Linked DNA regions of Homo sapiens: all the other regions are linked to region 1. The links are contacts of gene promoters, found by promoter capture Hi-C in blood cells and fetal thymus (Javierre and others, 2016). All regions are on one chromosome and are shown on one strand. The core of a region is centred on a gene start or on the middle of the fragment in contact, and the rest is flanking DNA. Distances in the headings are between cores, read along the strand shown.

Region 1 (2,700 bases), core at 81-2,580:
AATAAGTACTATTACTGAGTTGGTATTGCTAGGAATGGGCACTTTTCAACTAATTTTCACGGTAGTGTGAAAAGTGATGTAACAGAAACATACTTGGAGAACCCAGGGAGGTCCTAAATTTGCCCTAGGGATCAGGAATACTTTCAGAAATTAGTTATTATTTCATCTGAGTCTAAAGGGATGCGTAGAAATATCCTAGGTAGCTCAAAGGTGGTAATATTGAGTACTGGATTCCAAAGAAGAGTATTTTATAGAGGAAAAAACAGCAAAGGTTAAGAGACAAATTGTAAACCCCAGGAGGGGTGGGGTTTTAGTCTGTTTTATTAAGTATCTCCTGTATCTCTAGTGCTTTGAACAGTGCCTAGTTCATTCAAAAAGTAATCATTGAATGAATTTAAGGGCATCATATATCTAAGGGATGCCATGGCCTGCAGTTCACTGTCGCTGGAAAAGTAGACAAACGTCCAGTTTCAAAGAGACCGGTAAACTACATTAAATGTAAGAGACGAGGGGTGAAAGGTTGATGATATATATCGCTAGTATTAAAAAAATTCCAGGAAGTCCAGGAATGCCTGGCATCCGTCCTGCCAATTACCCTTTTCCCCAGAGTATGTACAAGGGGGAGGAGGCACCCAAGGGCCAGGAGAGTGGAGGGGCACAGCTCCACAATCTCCAAAGTAGGGTTCTCTGGCCAAAGCAGGATTGAAGCACATGGTTTGGACTTGAAATGTACGTGGAGCCTCCCACTCTCCTCCTTCCACTCCATCCTCCCCTCACTCTCCGCCCGACTCCACCACTGGCTCCTGAAGGAAACCGGACAATTTCCAGGCCCTCCCCAAATCCCACGGGAGGAATCGCCGAGCGCGCTCCTGCCCGCCGGCCCCGCCCCCTTACCCTCTGGAACGCAGCGAGAGCGCACGCGCGCCTAACGGAGCAGCGCGCGCGCCCGCAAGCTCCCCGCATCCCCGTGCTCATCCGGGTCTCAGCGAGCCTCGGCCAATGGTGGCCGCTCATGGCCCTTGGGGGCGGGGCTAAGCCTTCCCTCACAAGGGGCCTGTGGTCAACGCGATTTGCTTCCAAGGGACGGCCACCAGTCGGCACAGGAAAGGGGCAGAGGCAGTGAGTTCAGCGTGTGGACGAGGGTCAACAAGTTTGGGATCAAGCGGCTGCCGCTCCTCCAAAAGCGACCGAAGCGCGAGCAGATTACCCCTCCGAGCCAGTGTAGTAAACACACTTCAGAAACGTGAGGTGCCGGTGGTCACGAGGGGAGCGCGCCCTCCAATGAGGAGCCGGGGGCGGGGCCGAGGCCGCTGACGCGGCGGCGGCGGCAGAGTCACCCGGGCAGCCTCGGGACCGGTCACCGGCCGGCAACCGTCCAGCGGCCTCGACCACCGCCTCTAGCCTCCGTTCCCGGTCCTTTCTCCCGGGCCGAGAGACAGCGTCGCCGACAGGGGCTCATTCCCCTCCGGTTCTCCTCGGTGACTCACCTCGGGCGGGCCGTTTTGTCTTTAGGGGCCGCCTTGGTGGGGCGAGGTTTCCGTGACGAATCTCCTGGGGCCGTCCGTGCCGGCTCGGGCCGTCGTGGCGGCTCGAGCTCCTGGAACTTGCTCAGGCTCCGGAGGTCCGAGGCCCTCGAAGTTATGCGTCGCCTCCAGGCGGTTGCGGCGGGCGCGGGCTCCTAAAGGGCGTCACACCCGGACTCCGCCGACTAGGCAACCTCCATTCATCTTTCCACTGCGCCTCCGGCGCCCCCGCCTTCTCCGGTCCCCTCCTCGGAGTCATTTTTTCCTGTTCCCCCTCTGCCGCCCTTTCCTCACGCCCCGGGTGAGGCAATTCTCTTGGAAGCGAAGGTGTCGGCTATGAGCCGGAGCCTCCTTCCTTGAATTTCTCCGTGGAGGACCCGCCGCGCCCCCCGGCATGGGGGTGAACGCCGTGCACTGGTTCCGAAAGGGGCTCCGGCTCCACGACAACCCCGCCCTGAAGGAGTGCATTCAGGGCGCCGACACCATCCGCTGCGTCTACATCCTGGACCCCTGGTTCGCCGGCTCCTCCAATGTGGGCATCAACAGGTGGCGGTGAGTCACAAGCCCGTGGGAAATGGATTTGGGTGTTTAATGAGTCTGATGTTAATGAATTCCATGCGATCCGCCAAATCTGTGAATTTAGACGTGGGACTGTCTTGCTTATACCGCTTACGAATTTTAGGTGCCCTAAGTATTAAATAGAATTGACTTAATACTTCTCTGGCCAAAGAGTACTGACGACCTGAAACACTCGGTCTTCATCAGTGAGTTATGTGTCTTTCTGTGCTAACTGGAGCTCCTCCCCTGAATTTGTGGAGAATTCTTAGTGCTGGAGTTAAAGAAACACCTTTCCTGTCCTTAGTGGCCATTGTATATGGATTCCCTTGGCCTTTTTGTGGCATTCGGAAGGATTGTGATGTTTCCTGTTTACGTTTGTGTCTAGGTAACTCATAGTATGGAGAAAAATCATTCATTCAGTACAGCAGGCTCCAGATCCAGTGTTCTTCCACCTTGAGGTTACTGTGGGAAAAGCAAGGGAAACAGCATTATCTGGTTTCTCTGCTCGGTTCTTTTTCTCAACTCCTCCTTGTGGTTGCCGAGACAAAGCACAGTTTTTCTTTCTAGGCAAGTTGTAGTCCTTCTAGGGATCAGAGCACTGAAAGAAATCTTAGAGATG
Region 2 (2,700 bases), core at 189-2,688, 800 kb after region 1:
CCATGAGCTACGAAGACCCTTCTGGTCTAGTCAGACTAAGGTGTATTATTTGCCACTAAGAACTTTGACTAGAACAAATACTCCATAACCTGTGGGAGAATTAAAAGAAATAATGTATATGAAGAGTTGAGCAGAGTGCCAGCGACATTGTATGGATCAGTAAACTGTAACTACTATTATTATACTCTTGTTATTTTAATGATTTAATATTTACAGTTTCGACAGGTCCTGGGCAACTTAAAGGTCTGTGACATGCGATAATTTAAAATTCTGCCAAGGAGCAAATTTGAATCTAATAAGTTGGTGGTACAGGAGCCATTTATTTACCTCACAAATGAGCCTAACACATCACCCAGTATTTATATATCAATGTGAGGATTACTATTCTCCACTCATTAGGCCAGTAAGTCAGATCCATTCAGGAAAATAATATAACTTTATATTGTGTTAAGAACAATGATCCAAAAACTTGGATAATTATCCAAACGTTATCCAAAGACTTGGAAATAGGCAAAAGGGATTACTGGATGTCCTTTTAGTAGGGTGCTGTGTAGTGCAGTGTAGTAGCAGACTCGTACAAGGATTCATGCATTATCTAGGACTGTGTACCTTTGTTGGACTTACTACTCGTTATTGGTTCAGATATTCCAGAACTTTGTAAAGGCAGATGTTACTTTATCAAAAACTGATAACAAGGGCCCAGTGTAGTGGCTCACGCCTGTCATCCCAACACTTTGGGAGGCCAAGATGGACAGGTTGCTTGAGGCTAGGAGTTGGCGACCAGCCTGGGCGACATAGAGAGATCCTGTATCTACAAAAAAAATACAAAACTTAGCTGGGCAGGGTGGCATGTGGCTGTAGTCCCAGCTAATCAGGAAGCTAAAGTGGGAGAGTCCCTTGAGCCCAGGAGTTCGAGGCTACAGTGAGCTATCATCATGGCACCTCAGTTTAGCCTGGGTGACAGAGACCCTATGTCAAAAAACCGAAAACCAAAACCCAAAACAAAACACCAAAAAATTGATAACAATGCAAATTATTCTTGTCCATTTCTAATACAAGTAAAATCTTTTCTGTTCTATAGAAAAGATAAAAGCTTACTATTTATTACCTTATAAGACATTAACCAATTTTGTGTCTAACCTAGTAATCTTATTGTAAGATTTTTAAAAATGCATTTCTTGATGGGATATATAAACCCCTATTTCTCAAATATTCCTTAAACCAACTTTACCATTTTACTGGCTAACTCTTTAATTGATGAAATAAATATTTTTTTAAGCCCGTGTTTGTTCTGTTTCATATAAGTCATGTTTTCAATTTGTTGAAAATTATACCTTGACAAATAGAAGTCAATCCAAGGGGCCACATAGAAGGAGCATGTAATCCAGAACTGACGACCCCCAGGTAGGCTTCCTAGAGAAAGGAGTAGCCAAGCAGATACATGTACAAGAAGTTCTCAAGTGATCTCAACAAAACAGATTCAGGCCCCTAAATCAGTATTTAGGTCAAATTCATTGTTGAAAAATAAGGCTGATATGAGCTTAACTGATAAGGAAGAAAATTGGAACTACTTAGCTAAAAATCTGGATTGGTTTAAACTGCTTCAGTGTTGCTTTTATAATTTTCAAAAACGGCAGCTCACTTTGGAACCACAGGTACCTGCGAACTGTGGGAAATTCACCATTCTTGCCAAATGAGGTGAGGAACTCAATTCACTTTCTAAATCTACATAGATGGTTCTGCGCCATTTCTTCAGGAGTCCAAAGCTGAACCATAAGCTTGATGTAGAGGGCATTGCAATGAGTGGCTTTCAGCCCACAGGTGGACTTTGAATTTGAATGCCACAAGCCCACCCCTCTTATATGTAGCCTACTTCATTCATTTACATGGTTCACCTAGCTCTTTAAGCATTTTTGCCATCTCCATGAAGAAAAGTAGGGCCCCAAGCATTGTTTTCACCCATGAAATCTGCTATGCATGACTAGATGCAAAAAAGCAGACTTCAGGAAATCTTTTAAATGTACAGCATGTATCACACATATCCTGTAATTATTGGAGGACATGAAAGTCACTCACTTCAGACTGTTCCTTGGGCACAAGGAATGTCTTCTACTCATGAATACAAGCAATTTAACTGTCTGAAGGCTGAACTCAGAGGCTCAAATTAATTGCCTGACTTTGGACTAACAAGGGTTTCAGGGTTTTTTTTTTTTCCTTTTAGCAGGAGGGGTTGTGCAAAAATTAAACTTCTCCTGAGCACCTAAAGTCTCCAGATGCTGGGCAGGTAGTGTTTACCAACACTCCCCTCAATAGCTGCCTCTTATTCTCAGACTACCTGATGGCTGAGACCACGATGTCTCTTTTGGGCAAAGTCGTTCTCATACTTGCTCCATAAAAGGGGAAAATACAGGTATGGGAGTTCCTCTTCTGGAGTACAGATCTGAGGCACATGCAGCTATGCCCTAACCCAAATACACCTCTTGGTCATGGGTGACGAGAATAGGAGATACTTCTGCCTGTGCATTGGAGCCTGCAGTGAGCAATGCTTGCTCGTGTTTGCCCCAAAACCTTTTTCAGACAATAACTCTTTATATCCATCTTTGTTTCTTTATTTTTTATTTATTTATTTTTTTAATTTGAGACGGAGTCTTGCTCTGTTGTGCCCAGGCTAGAGTGCAGTGGCACGATCTCGGCTCACTG
Region 3 (2,743 bases), core at 89-2,588, 590 kb before region 1:
AGGGAAGGTAAAACGTTATAATGGCATTTCTAAAGAGCTAAGTAGGAAGTGGGGAACAGGGGAAAAGGAGAAAAGAGAAAAGAATAATGAAATTTAAAAAATAACTCATTCTCTTAAAAAATGGGGGTGCCTGGTTACATTTCTGTCATCCAAGTTGGAGTGCAGTGGCATGATCATAACTCATTGCAGCCTCGAACTTAACCATTTTTAAGAGTATAGTTTAGTGGTAGTAAGTACTAAATTGCTGAGTTTTGAGGTCATCTTTTAATGCAGCAATAATAAAGCAGGTGAGAAATGTGCTGTATTTAGAATAGAGCGCATGAACTGATTTCTTAGCAGAGGCTGATGTATTAACCCCTGGCTAGGCTCACGTGGGCTCACCTTGTATACGGGAATGGGCTTAGGTTTGAGTATTTGACTCTAGGTCTTTTGCCCCCGTGGGTTGCCTTCTCATGAGCCAGCTTCTGCTCCATGATGGCCCAGTCCCTGTCAGGTTTGCTGTCACAACCAGCATGGTGCCTGGTGCAGGGTGGGCTCTTGATAAATCATAGTTGTTAAATGAGTGAATAAGTTAAATAACAGAAGGTAAGCTAGGACTCCAGTTATTTTGGGCTTGCTAAACTCAGCCTCTTTTACAGGACTTATTTCCGACATTCTGCCACTTCAGCCCAAGCTGTGAATTCCCTTTAAAAATGAAAATCCCATGGCAGCAGGTATGATTAATTCCTTATAATGAGAATTGAAAGAGATTGAGCTTAAGTAGCTCTGTTTCTAAGCCTGATTCTTAGGAACTGATGAACATATTTAAGTCAGAAAAGTCTCTTTGCCAGAGGCCAGAATAAATGTCGTTGGTGGCACGTTGGCTATTCTTAGTTAAGGGTCCCAGAGGATCGAATCCTGGGCCATGCCAGGCTCTTGTTATACCCTATAGCTCAGTGTCATCTGTACTGAGGCTCATAAACATTTTTTTCTAAATGGGCTTGAGTGCTGGGAAGGAAATGAAGCCTATGGTACCCTCCTCCCCCATTGCACGAGGCTCTGTTTCTTGCTCCTCCTCTAGCTGACCCTACAATATTAGCTGATAAGGAGTGGAAGGAATGATAGCTACCACTTACCAAGTGCTAGAGACTTATACCATGAATAGATTTGACAGTGACAAAATCAGGTGTACAAAAATGAAACTTGATTTTTCTAGAACTGAATTGGCATTTTCACAAGGACGAGAGCCGTGAGAGTCTTGTTACCACAGTATTGCCAACACCTGGCAGAGTGCCTGGCACAGCAAATGTCACTAAATATTCGTTGAATAAATGAATAATATTAGAGTTCTAAACTGAAGTTCAAATACATTAGGAAGGCTAGGCGTGGTGGCTCAAGCCTGTAATCCTGGCACTTTGGGAGGCCGAGGTGGGTAGATCACCTGAGGTCAAGAGTTTGAGACCAGGCTGGCCAGTGAAACCTTGTCTCTACTAAAAATACAAAAATTAACTGTGTGTGGTGGTATGCACTTGTAGTCCCAGCTACTTGGGAAGCTGAGGCAGGAGAATCACTTGAACCTGGAAGGCGGAGGTTGCAGTGAGCAGAGATCGATTGTGCCACTGCACTCCAGCCTGGGTGACAGAGCAAGACTCTGTCTCAAAAAAAAAAAAAAAAAAATCAGGAAACTTGCCCAGCGTCATAGAGTTAGCAATGGCAATATACTAACCCGACTCCTGAGATAGGATCCTGTCTGTCATGTGACACAAGTTTTCTGGTAGAGTTGTTCATCAATTCATTCATTCATTCGTTGGTCTGTCAGGACTCTATTGAATGCAATTGACAGCTAACCGACTCCATTTGCCTTGGGCAAGAAAGAGAATGTATATGCTTAGTAGCTCAAGAACCTACTGACATAAATAGCTTCAGACATAGCTGGATCTAGGGGCTGAAACCACTGTCATCAGGATTGGACCTCTCTTCTATATTTAGTTTCTGTCTTACAATCTGTTCACTTAACATTAAGCCATCAGGAGCTTCAGGCTTGATGCATCTTTACTACTTGCAACCTCGGCAGAAAAAGCACTTGCATTTCTCTCTACTTCTCTCTCATTTGCCTCTTCAGTTCTGGAATGATCACCAGTCACTGTGGTCAGGAGAAGGTGATGCTCTGCTCAGCAAAGCCTGAGCCTCATGCCCAGCCCTGGAGCCAGAGAGAGAATTAGCTGTACAGGGAACACAGAGTTGGCAGCAAGAATTCTCTGGAGGAAACTTGGGGTGCTGCTGTGAGGAGGCAAGAACTGTCACCCATGACATGCAACAATTGTTTTCTTTGCCATCTTTATGCAGGACAGTTTGGGAGACAGGGAGCTACAAAAATGAACATGACACAGCCCTTCCCTCTGAGGGCTCTGTATTCTAATATAGGATCAGAGGTTTATGGTCAAGGGAAAATTAAATAAGACATGCAAGCAAATGTGGTTGTGACAGCCTGATTGGTGACTGCTTCATCCTATTCACCGTCAAGTTGCTGGGTGACAGCTGAGGATTCTGACCATCTACCCTTTACCAGCAACTGCATTCCCTCAGTCCCCTCCTCCTTGATGCCACCACTATCACCACCTGTCAGAAAAACTCCTTTCCACAGACTTGGGTAGTTTTCTGCCCCCTCTAGCTTCTGTGTAACACCTCAGCGTTAAAGTGAAACTTCAACCCTATAAGCTTTCCAACTCAAGTTCTACCTTGGTTTTCTGCTCCAGTCTGTCTC
Region 4 (2,752 bases), core at 77-2,576, 690 kb after region 1:
AGCTAAGCTTCATCCTATGCAATAATACCATAAAATCACATATATCACAAAAATGGATTTGATGTGCTAGTTGTATTCCTTCTAATAAGTATGTAATTACTTACATAAAAAATGACCCTGTATCACTGAAAATCATCCTTTATATCACATTTAGGTAAATACTGTCCAAAACAATTCTGGAAAACAAAGTTCTTTTCCCTGAACCATCTATTCTGACTTTATTCCTCACTGGATTATGTATAACCAAACTTTTAAAATGGTAATTTAGGTTCCATGCAACCACAGAAAAGCACAAATGATTTTTTTTTTTTGAGTCGGAGTTTTGCTCTTGTTGCCCAGGCTGGAGTGCAATGGTGTGATCTTGGCTCACTGCTACCTCCGCCTCCCAGTTTCAAGCGATTCTCCTGCCTCAGCCTCCCAAGTAGCTGGGATTACAGGCATGCACCACCACACCTGGCTAATTTTGTGTTTTTAGTAGAGATGGGGTTTCTCCATATTGGTCAGGCTGGTCTCAAACTCCTGACCTCAGGTGATCTGCCCGCCTCAGCCTCCCAAAGTGCTGGAATTACAGGTGTGAGCCACTGTGCCTGGCCTATCTTTATCAGTCTAACTAAACAAATGTTAATATCGGCAGGACTCTATCAACTAAAGCTCTTTAATTAACCCAACATTCTTCTCAGTTATAGTGTGAAGGTAAGTGTAGCTCCTGAGAACTACATGGGGAGCTGTGGAAAATACAGAGCTTTACGTATATTATATCTCCGAATCATCACAAGAACCCTGCAAGAAAGTGGAATTACTTTTATTAAAAAGATGAGAAAACTGAAGCTTAGAAAAGTTCAGATTTGCCCAAAGTTCATCAGTTAGGATGTAAGAAACCAGGATTTGAACAATTACGTCTCAGGCTCAAAAGCCTTTGTTGTTTCTACTATCCATTTTTGCTATTTTAAGTTTCAGACTCTTCCAATCATCCAAAAGAGCTTAAAATTCAGTTGAGACCCAGCTTTAACATTCAGAATTTTCTAATTATTTGGATTAAATCAAGGACATGCACAAATGGTAGCCAAGGGGCAGAATGAGAGACCTGTATTATTTGGATTGAAGGGTGTTTTAATACAGGAAAATCGGATCTGGATGCATTCAGGTGGTTACTCTCGACTTCCACAGATCCCGTGACCTTCCATTATTTTACAGTCAGCCCCTGAAGGTAGTGTTTGCAACCCTTGAAAAAGATTATTCACGGATGGAACACATGATAACTCACTACAAACCAGACTATTTAGTTAACAAGATAGTCTAACAAATAATAATTCCATAACTTAGTAAGAGTAGCATATACATTAAATGGGAAGAAAATTGAGGGCTGCCTCTTGCCAACACCCCACATGCCAATATGGTTGATCTCTGTTTAATAATAAATTAATAAAAAATAAATATTACATACTAGTTCAAGGCCAGAAGATAGGTTCTAACCCTTACTCTTACCACTAACCAGCTGGGTGACAACGCAAATCATCTAGCATGTTTGGATCAGAGAATCTTCACAATAAGTGAAGGAGGCTGGATAATGTGAACTTTAAATTCAAGGTCTAGAAGATGAACTCATCCAGTAAACATTTTTAAAACTATCTGCTGTGGTGATGGTTGTACAATAATGTGAATGTACTTAAGTCCAGAAAATTGTACACTTAAAACAGTAAACTTTATGTTACGCATATTTTACCATTAAGCATATTTTACTATACAATAAGCATAAGCATATTTTACATAAGCAATTTTACCATACAATAAAAAATATGTACGGGCAAGGCACTGTAAGCTTATTTTAATTTATTTATAAAACATGTAAGACACCATCTCTGTCCTTCAAAACCATGAAATCTAGTAGCAGTACTAATGTATGTATGAATATAAAATAACAATAATTTAAGACTGAAAGAATAACCACAAGAGAATAAACATGATGATGGCGATACAGCTAACATTCTCCGAGTATAAACAAACTGCTGATAATGGAAGGTTATTTCTGATGGGGCAGTACAGTCCTCTTTAGAATTTTCTCTTGAGGAATTGGACTTTAAATAAGGTAAACTCTTATCACAGTTCTCTAACAGGAATTCACAGACCCCACAGTCCTTATTCACAATAACGAAGTGTTACTCACTGGGACATGGGTCAGAATGGTGGAAGCCAGGAGCTCTCTTGCTTCTTCTATTTTGGTTTTCTTTGGTCCACCTCCCCACATCCTTTGCCTTCTTACTTTGTTCCCTATATATTTTAATGCCTATAAAAAACAGATTACAATAATGTTTGAATGACATCACTGGAGGTAGTTTAGCAAGCACCTAACCACATGTACAGTATGAGCGAAAGAGATAAAGACCCTGGTTATAGAGAAAGCTGTACTGGGTCTAGTTGAAAATCAACGTTTATCATAAATCAATGACAAAAAGCATAGCATACTGCCTAACACACTGGTTCCCTTTTTTCTCTTACTAAAAAAAATGATACATTGTCATTGTAGGAAATTTAGAAAATACAGACACAAGTAAAATATATTTGTGTGTGTGTGTGTGTGTGTGTGTGTGTGTGTGTGTGTGTAGACATATAGCAGCCATCAGTCCTTCACCCAGAGAAAACCACAGGTAAATTTTATAGTAGTACTTTTTTCCTCTCAAAAATGAATCATACCATGTAAGACCCCTACATTGAAAGCTACAAAACAGTGCTGACAGAAAACAAAACCTAAATA
Region 5 (2,700 bases), core at 109-2,608, 530 kb before region 1:
TCTCTGCATGGCTGGAAGCTTTTCCTCACTTAGGTGGTTTTTCAAATGCCACTTTCTCAGGGAGAACTTCCTGACCGTTTCGTCTAAGTTAGACCTCATCAGCCCCACCCCCAGAGACCATACCATGGTCCCATTTCATTTTGTAAACACTGATCATGCTCTGACTCTGTTTCGTTTATTTATTTTCTTGCTTTTGGTCAGTAAGCTCCAGAAGGATAAAGAACATGTCTGTCCCATCACCACTGTAGTGCCTGGAACCAAGTGGGCACTCCTGATTATCTCTTGATTATGCCCAGGGGAATGATGTGTTAGAAAAATAAGCTAGAGGCCGGATGTGGTGGCTCATGCCTGTAATCCCAGCACTTTAGGAGGTCGAGGCAAGTAGATCACCTGAGGTCAGGAGTTCGAGACCAGCCTGGTCAAAATGGTAAAACTCTGTCTCTACCAAAAATATAAAAATTAGCCAGGCATGGCGGTGGGTGCCTGTAATCCCAGCTACTAGGGAGGCTGAGACATGAGAATCGCTTGAACCTGAGAGGCAGAGGTTACAGTAAGCTGAGATCACACCACTACACTCCAGCCTGGGCGACGGAGTGAGACTCCATCTCAAAAAAAAAAAAAAAAAAAAAAAAAAGGCCAGGCGTGGTGGCTCACACCTGTAATCCCAGCACTTTGAGAGGCTGAGGTGGGCAGATCACGAGGTCAAGAGATTGAGGCCATCCTGGCCAACACGGTGAAATCCTGCCTCTACTAAAAATACAAAAATTAGCAGGGCATGGTGGCGTGGGCCTATAGTCCCAGCTACTCAGGAGGCTGAGGCAGGAGAATTGCTTGAACCTGGGAGGCAGAGGTTGCAGTGAGCCGAGATTGCACCATTGCACTCCAGCCTGGGCAACAGAGCAAGACTCCATCTTAAAAAAAAAAAAAAAAAGACAAATAAGCTGGGAAGTCTTTTTAAACAGATGTATTCAAAAAAATGAATATATTGTTCTGCTCCTGGGGAAGTCTAGAGACACTGAATTCATTTGAAGTCCAAATTTAGAAACAAGAACATAGAAGCAGATGTGTGGTCGGATTTCAAGTATGGTTTGAGTGAGCACAAACCAATAATGGTGGGACGAATATGCCTCATTTTACAGGACAGCTGTTTCTATAAGTTGAACATAAAGTGGATTTATTTGCAAGAATCTATTCACTACTCTGATAAAACAAGATATTTGGCCAGGAGCAGTGGCTCACACCTGTAATCCCAGCACCTGGGGAGGCTGAGGTGGGAGGATTGCTTGAGGTCAGGAGTTCGAGATCACCCTGGCCAACATGGTGAAACCTTGTTTCTACTAAATATTAGCCAGGCATGGTGGTGCATGCCTGCAATCCCAGCCACTTGGGAGGCTGAGACACGAGAATGGCTTGAACCTGTGAGGCAGAGGTTGCAGTGAGCCAAGATCATGCTACTGCACTCCAGTCTGGGCGACAGAGCGAGACCTTGTTTTAAAAAAGAAAAAAAAAAGATACTTGTTTGGACAAACATTTGAACAGGAATCCTAAAGTGCAGGGAGAAGGAACAATGCTGGCCAGCTCTGTGATGATGGCTGCCCTATTGTCCGACAGGAGACTGTCTTCTCAACTTGGAATTTCTCTGTCATCATCTCCCTCCAGTTTTTCTTTTGACCACAAGAATATCCCCCATGCTTGGGGAATGGGTGACTTCACCCTGCAGGCTCGGGGAAATTATCTCCTTTTTTAACCTCCACCTACCCGCTCCCACCCCCGGCCAGTGGTCAGTGCATGTGATGTGTAAAGCCACATTTCACCAGTAGGGGATGCCATTGAACCCCCTGTAAAAGCAAAACACACTTCACTGGCTCCCTGCTCTTGAGACACGACCACGCCCAGCTATTTTTTTGTATTTCTTGTAGAGGTGGAGTTTCATCATGTTGCCCAGGCTAATCTCGAACTCCTGGGCTCAAGCAATCCTCCCACCTCGGCCTCCCAAAGTGCTGGGATTACAGGCATGAGCCACCATACCCAGTCAGCCTGATTTTCAAATGACTGACTATTAAACGATGGGAGCACCCACCACTTCTGTGAATGGAGGGTATTTTGTATGCTTCAGCCTGTAGATTCTTATAATCATGGGCTCAGGTTCTGAGAACTATTTCCTATCTAATGAGCTGTCCAAGTCAAACATTGTGGCTCCAGGCAAAACAAAGTGTGGTGTTAGATGTCGGGAGAGTGGCGGCCCTTTGGAGGATAGCAGTGGAGTAGGGTGTAAGGGGACCACTTGGGTGCTAGTCGTGTTCCATTTCTCAGTCTGGATGAGGATTGCACAGTTTGTCTATCTTATGAAAATCCATTTGGCATCGTAGTTATGAGCTGGGCACTTTTCTGTACGTATGTCATACCTCAAAGTAAAGTTTACTTTAAGAACGCACAGGTTAGTTTTACTTAATACACAGAATGTCTCAATAAATTCTGGAATTCCCAGTATAGGCTGAAGAAAAGTTAAAAACAACAAACAAACAAAACCTCAAAACGATAGAACCCAGACCCTGGGAATGTTTCTCACTAAGACAGTTTCTTAGGTGATTTCAGGTGAAAGTCTCTTTATTCAGCTACTTATTTTTAAGTCAGGTGGGGAGTTTGGTTTTGAAATGCTTCCAGCAGGTTTTACTCCTCACGGACTCACCGAAGCTTGTT
Region 6 (2,700 bases), core at 117-2,616, 780 kb after region 1:
AATACACATTCCTACCTAACTTCTCTACCATTTAGCAATAGTTTTTAGAAAACCACATGTCCCTCCACTGTAATTACTGACGAGGCTCTTTCCCCACAGAGCTATATACCTTTCCTAAGCAGAGGCCATAAGTCCTCCAGGTAGGTACTTACCATTGTGCCTAGTACAGTGCCTGATATATAGTGACTGCTTAACAAATGCATGCATGGTGAATGAATTCATAATTTGATAAGTATATCTCTTTTTTTCTGAGACAGAGTCTCACTCTGTCGCCCAGGCTGCAGTGCAGTGGCGCAGTCTCAGCTTACTGCGGCCTCCGCCTCCCAGGTTCAAGTGATTCTCATGCCTCAGCCTCCCAAGTAGCTGGGATTACAGGCATGCACTGCCACACCCAGCTAATTTTTGTACTTTTAGTAGAGACAGGGTTTCACCACGTCGGGCAGGCTGGTCTTAAACTCCTGACCTCAGGTGATCTGCTCACCTCAGCCTCCCAAAGTGCTGGGATTACAGGTGTGAGCCACTGCGCCCGGCTAAGACTTTATCTTTAAACAAAGGCAATGTGTCCTAACTCTGTACTTTGTTTCCCTTGCTCACATTTTCTAGCCATGGCAGAAACTGAAGGGAAGAGAGATTAATATTTTCCATAGTATCAAAGTATTTATGTGCAAGGCACTTTTATGCTAGTGAGTATGCATTTGAAGTGAGTAGTGTAGCCCCCTTCTTATTCTTGGGAAGTGTGAGGTTCAGGTATGGTCTCAGCAAAGCCAGGATTCAAACCCCACAGTCTGTCTGAGCCTAAAATGCCTTCACTATGGCCTGTACTCGCCACTTTTGAATTTAAAGTACAGATATGCCCTGTCTTTTGCTTTACCTCATAAAAAATACAAATTTTAACTTTAAAACAAGACTCCATCTCAAAAAATTCATTTGTATTAGTCAATAAATGTTTATTAAACATCCAATATGTGTAGGGCCCTGTTTTAGGAACTGGGAATACTACAGTGAAAAGAAAGTCTCTGACCTCAAAAAGCTTATATGTTAGCAGGGACAAAAAGGCAAAAAATACATTAAAAATGAATACGACAATTTCAGACCTATGAGAAAGAATAAGACAATGTGGTACACAGTTACAGAGAGGGTGCTGATTTCACTGGATGGTGGGAAAAAGCCTCTTTAAGTCAGTGACCTTTGTGTTCAGACTCAGAAGGGGAGAGCAAAGAGCCATGTGAAGGTCTGGGAAAAGAACATTCAAAAAGAAGAAGTCAGAGGAACAAAGTTTATGAGACAAGATCCAGATTGGTGAACCCTGAGGTAAGGAAGGAAGCCAGTGTGGCTGAAGCACAGCAAGCAGGAGGGACAGCACTGAGATGGGGTCAGGGGAGTGGGGCCATCCAGGCCATAGGAAAATGCTTAGATTTTTGGTCTCTGAGTAAGTGAAAACCATTGAAGAGTTTTTGGCAAAGAAATCATCTAATATAGCTCATTCTTTAAAAACATCATTAAGGCTACTGGATATGGAAGATGAACTGTTGGGGGCTAAGAAAGGAGACACGGCAACCAGTTAGGACTGAAAGGGTCCAGGCCACAGATGACGGTGGCCTAGCCTAGGGCTGTAGCAGTAGAGCTGGTATCAAGGGTCATGGCAAAATGCAAGTTACCAAAGGAAACCAAACAGATACACCCACGATACATGGCAAGCTTAAAAAATGTTAATATTAAATGAACAACATCCCCAAGAGGACTATGATCCACATTTTAAAGAAGAAGAGTTATTACATTGACTTCCTTTACTTTTCCTGCTTTAAAACAAATGAAAAAGTTCTGAATGGGATCAAATATTCTAAGTTGTCTTAACTGATAGAATGCCTCAGGATTTATAATTGGTACTGTAAGGTTGAAAATTCAATCCACGAACCAACTTTGCTTCTAAAGACGACTGATCTGTAATAATAGTCTCAAGCCTCTTCTCTTTGTCTCAGGAAACCTGTGAGCCACTGACTCCAGAAAGGCTGAAGTAGGATCCAAAGGGGTGGCTCCAACTAGAGGTCGGAGGGCGAGGTTAACCAGGAAGTGCCTCTTGCAGCTGTGATTCCTACCTCCAGACATTTCTGGATTGCCTGCTTTTAGCACTTTGACAGTTCAGGTGCATTTATTTATTCTTCAGAACCTGAGTATCAGTTTTCCATAAATCAATGTGCAAATATGTCTTGAGCCTGTACTGTATGTCAGGCACTATGCTAGACAATAGGGATACAGCAACAAACAATACAGACATAGCTCCTCCATAAATAGTGCATTTCAATCAAGTGGGGAAGATGGACATCAAACATAAAATTATAAGACCTCTTAACAAAAAGGAGGCAGCAAGGGCTACAGGTGTCTGTAGCAAAGGGATTAATTGTAGTCTAGGGGGTTCACCAATGTCAGAAAAAGCTTCCCTCAGGAAGTGACATATAAACTGAGTTCTAAAGATTATGGGTAATATGTATCCTAGGGGAATTTTTTTGTTTGTTTGTTTTTGTTTTTGTTTTTTGAGACGGAGTACTCTGTTGCGCAGGCTGTAGTGCAGTGGTGCGATCTCGGCTCACTGAAACCTCCACCTCCTGGGTTCACGCAATTCTCCTGCCTCAGCCTCCCAAGTAGCTGGGATTACACGCGCCCCACCACCATGGCCGGCTAATTTTTGTGTTTTTAGTAGAG

What was found. The method cuts DNA at HindIII sites, captures the fragments that hold promoters and counts their contacts. A CHiCAGO score of 5 or more calls a contact.
Region 2: a contact is called between a fragment that was not itself captured here and the fragment with the promoter of CRY1 in region 1, in 1 of 17 cell types (fetal thymus). The highest score is 5.9, in fetal thymus.
Region 3: a fragment that was not itself captured here is called in contact with the fragment with the promoter of CRY1 in region 1 in 2 of 17 cell types (total CD4 T cells and total CD8 T cells); the score reaches 5.4 in total CD4 T cells.
Region 4: a contact is called between a fragment that was not itself captured here and the fragment with the promoter of CRY1 in region 1, in 1 of 17 cell types (total B cells). The highest score is 5.1, in total B cells.
Region 5: a fragment that was not itself captured here is called in contact with the fragment with the promoter of CRY1 in region 1 in 7 of 17 cell types (naive CD4 T cells, naive CD8 T cells, endothelial precursors and 4 more); the score reaches 9.5 in naive CD4 T cells.
Region 6: a fragment that was not itself captured here is called in contact with the fragment with the promoter of CRY1 in region 1 in 1 of 17 cell types (naive CD4 T cells); the score reaches 6.3 in naive CD4 T cells.

What each region holds. Positions count from the first base shown.
Region 1 is chr12:107,092,179-107,094,878 of GRCh38, reverse strand. It overlaps CRY1 (cryptochrome circadian regulator 1), which reads left to right and starts at 1,330. Exons shown (of 13, transcript NM_004075.5): 1 at 1,330-2,075. The coding sequence starts at 1,918. RefSeq lists silencers at 859-938, 1,269-1,498 and an enhancer at 1,039-1,188. The HindIII fragment of the contact is 9,786 bases long and covers 1-2,700 here.
Region 2 is chr12:106,292,319-106,295,018 of GRCh38, reverse strand. No RefSeq gene overlaps it. Among named protein-coding and RNA genes, the nearest start is that of TCP11L2, 9.1 kb to the left of the region's middle. The HindIII fragment of the contact is 685 bases long and covers 1,096-1,780 here.
Region 3 is chr12:107,678,024-107,680,766 of GRCh38, reverse strand. No RefSeq gene overlaps it. Among named protein-coding and RNA genes, the nearest start is that of PWP1, 6.4 kb to the left of the region's middle. The HindIII fragment of the contact is 2,723 bases long and covers 1-2,699 here.
Region 4 is chr12:106,405,389-106,408,140 of GRCh38, reverse strand. POLR3B (RNA polymerase III subunit B) reads right to left here. Exons shown (of 28, transcript NM_018082.6): 11 at 2,165-2,284. Among named protein-coding and RNA genes, the nearest start is that of POLR3B, 49 kb to the right of the region's middle. The HindIII fragment of the contact is 991 bases long and covers 831-1,821 here.
Region 5 is chr12:107,621,293-107,623,992 of GRCh38, reverse strand. All of the region lies in intron 11 of ABTB3 (ankyrin repeat and BTB domain containing 3), which reads right to left. Among named protein-coding and RNA genes, the nearest start is that of PWP1, 63 kb to the left of the region's middle. The HindIII fragment of the contact is 2,676 bases long and covers 21-2,696 here.
Region 6 is chr12:106,315,066-106,317,765 of GRCh38, reverse strand. The region is part of intron 3 of TCP11L2 (t-complex 11 like 2); the gene reads right to left. Among named protein-coding and RNA genes, the nearest start is that of TCP11L2, 14 kb to the right of the region's middle. The HindIII fragment of the contact is 668 bases long and covers 1,033-1,700 here.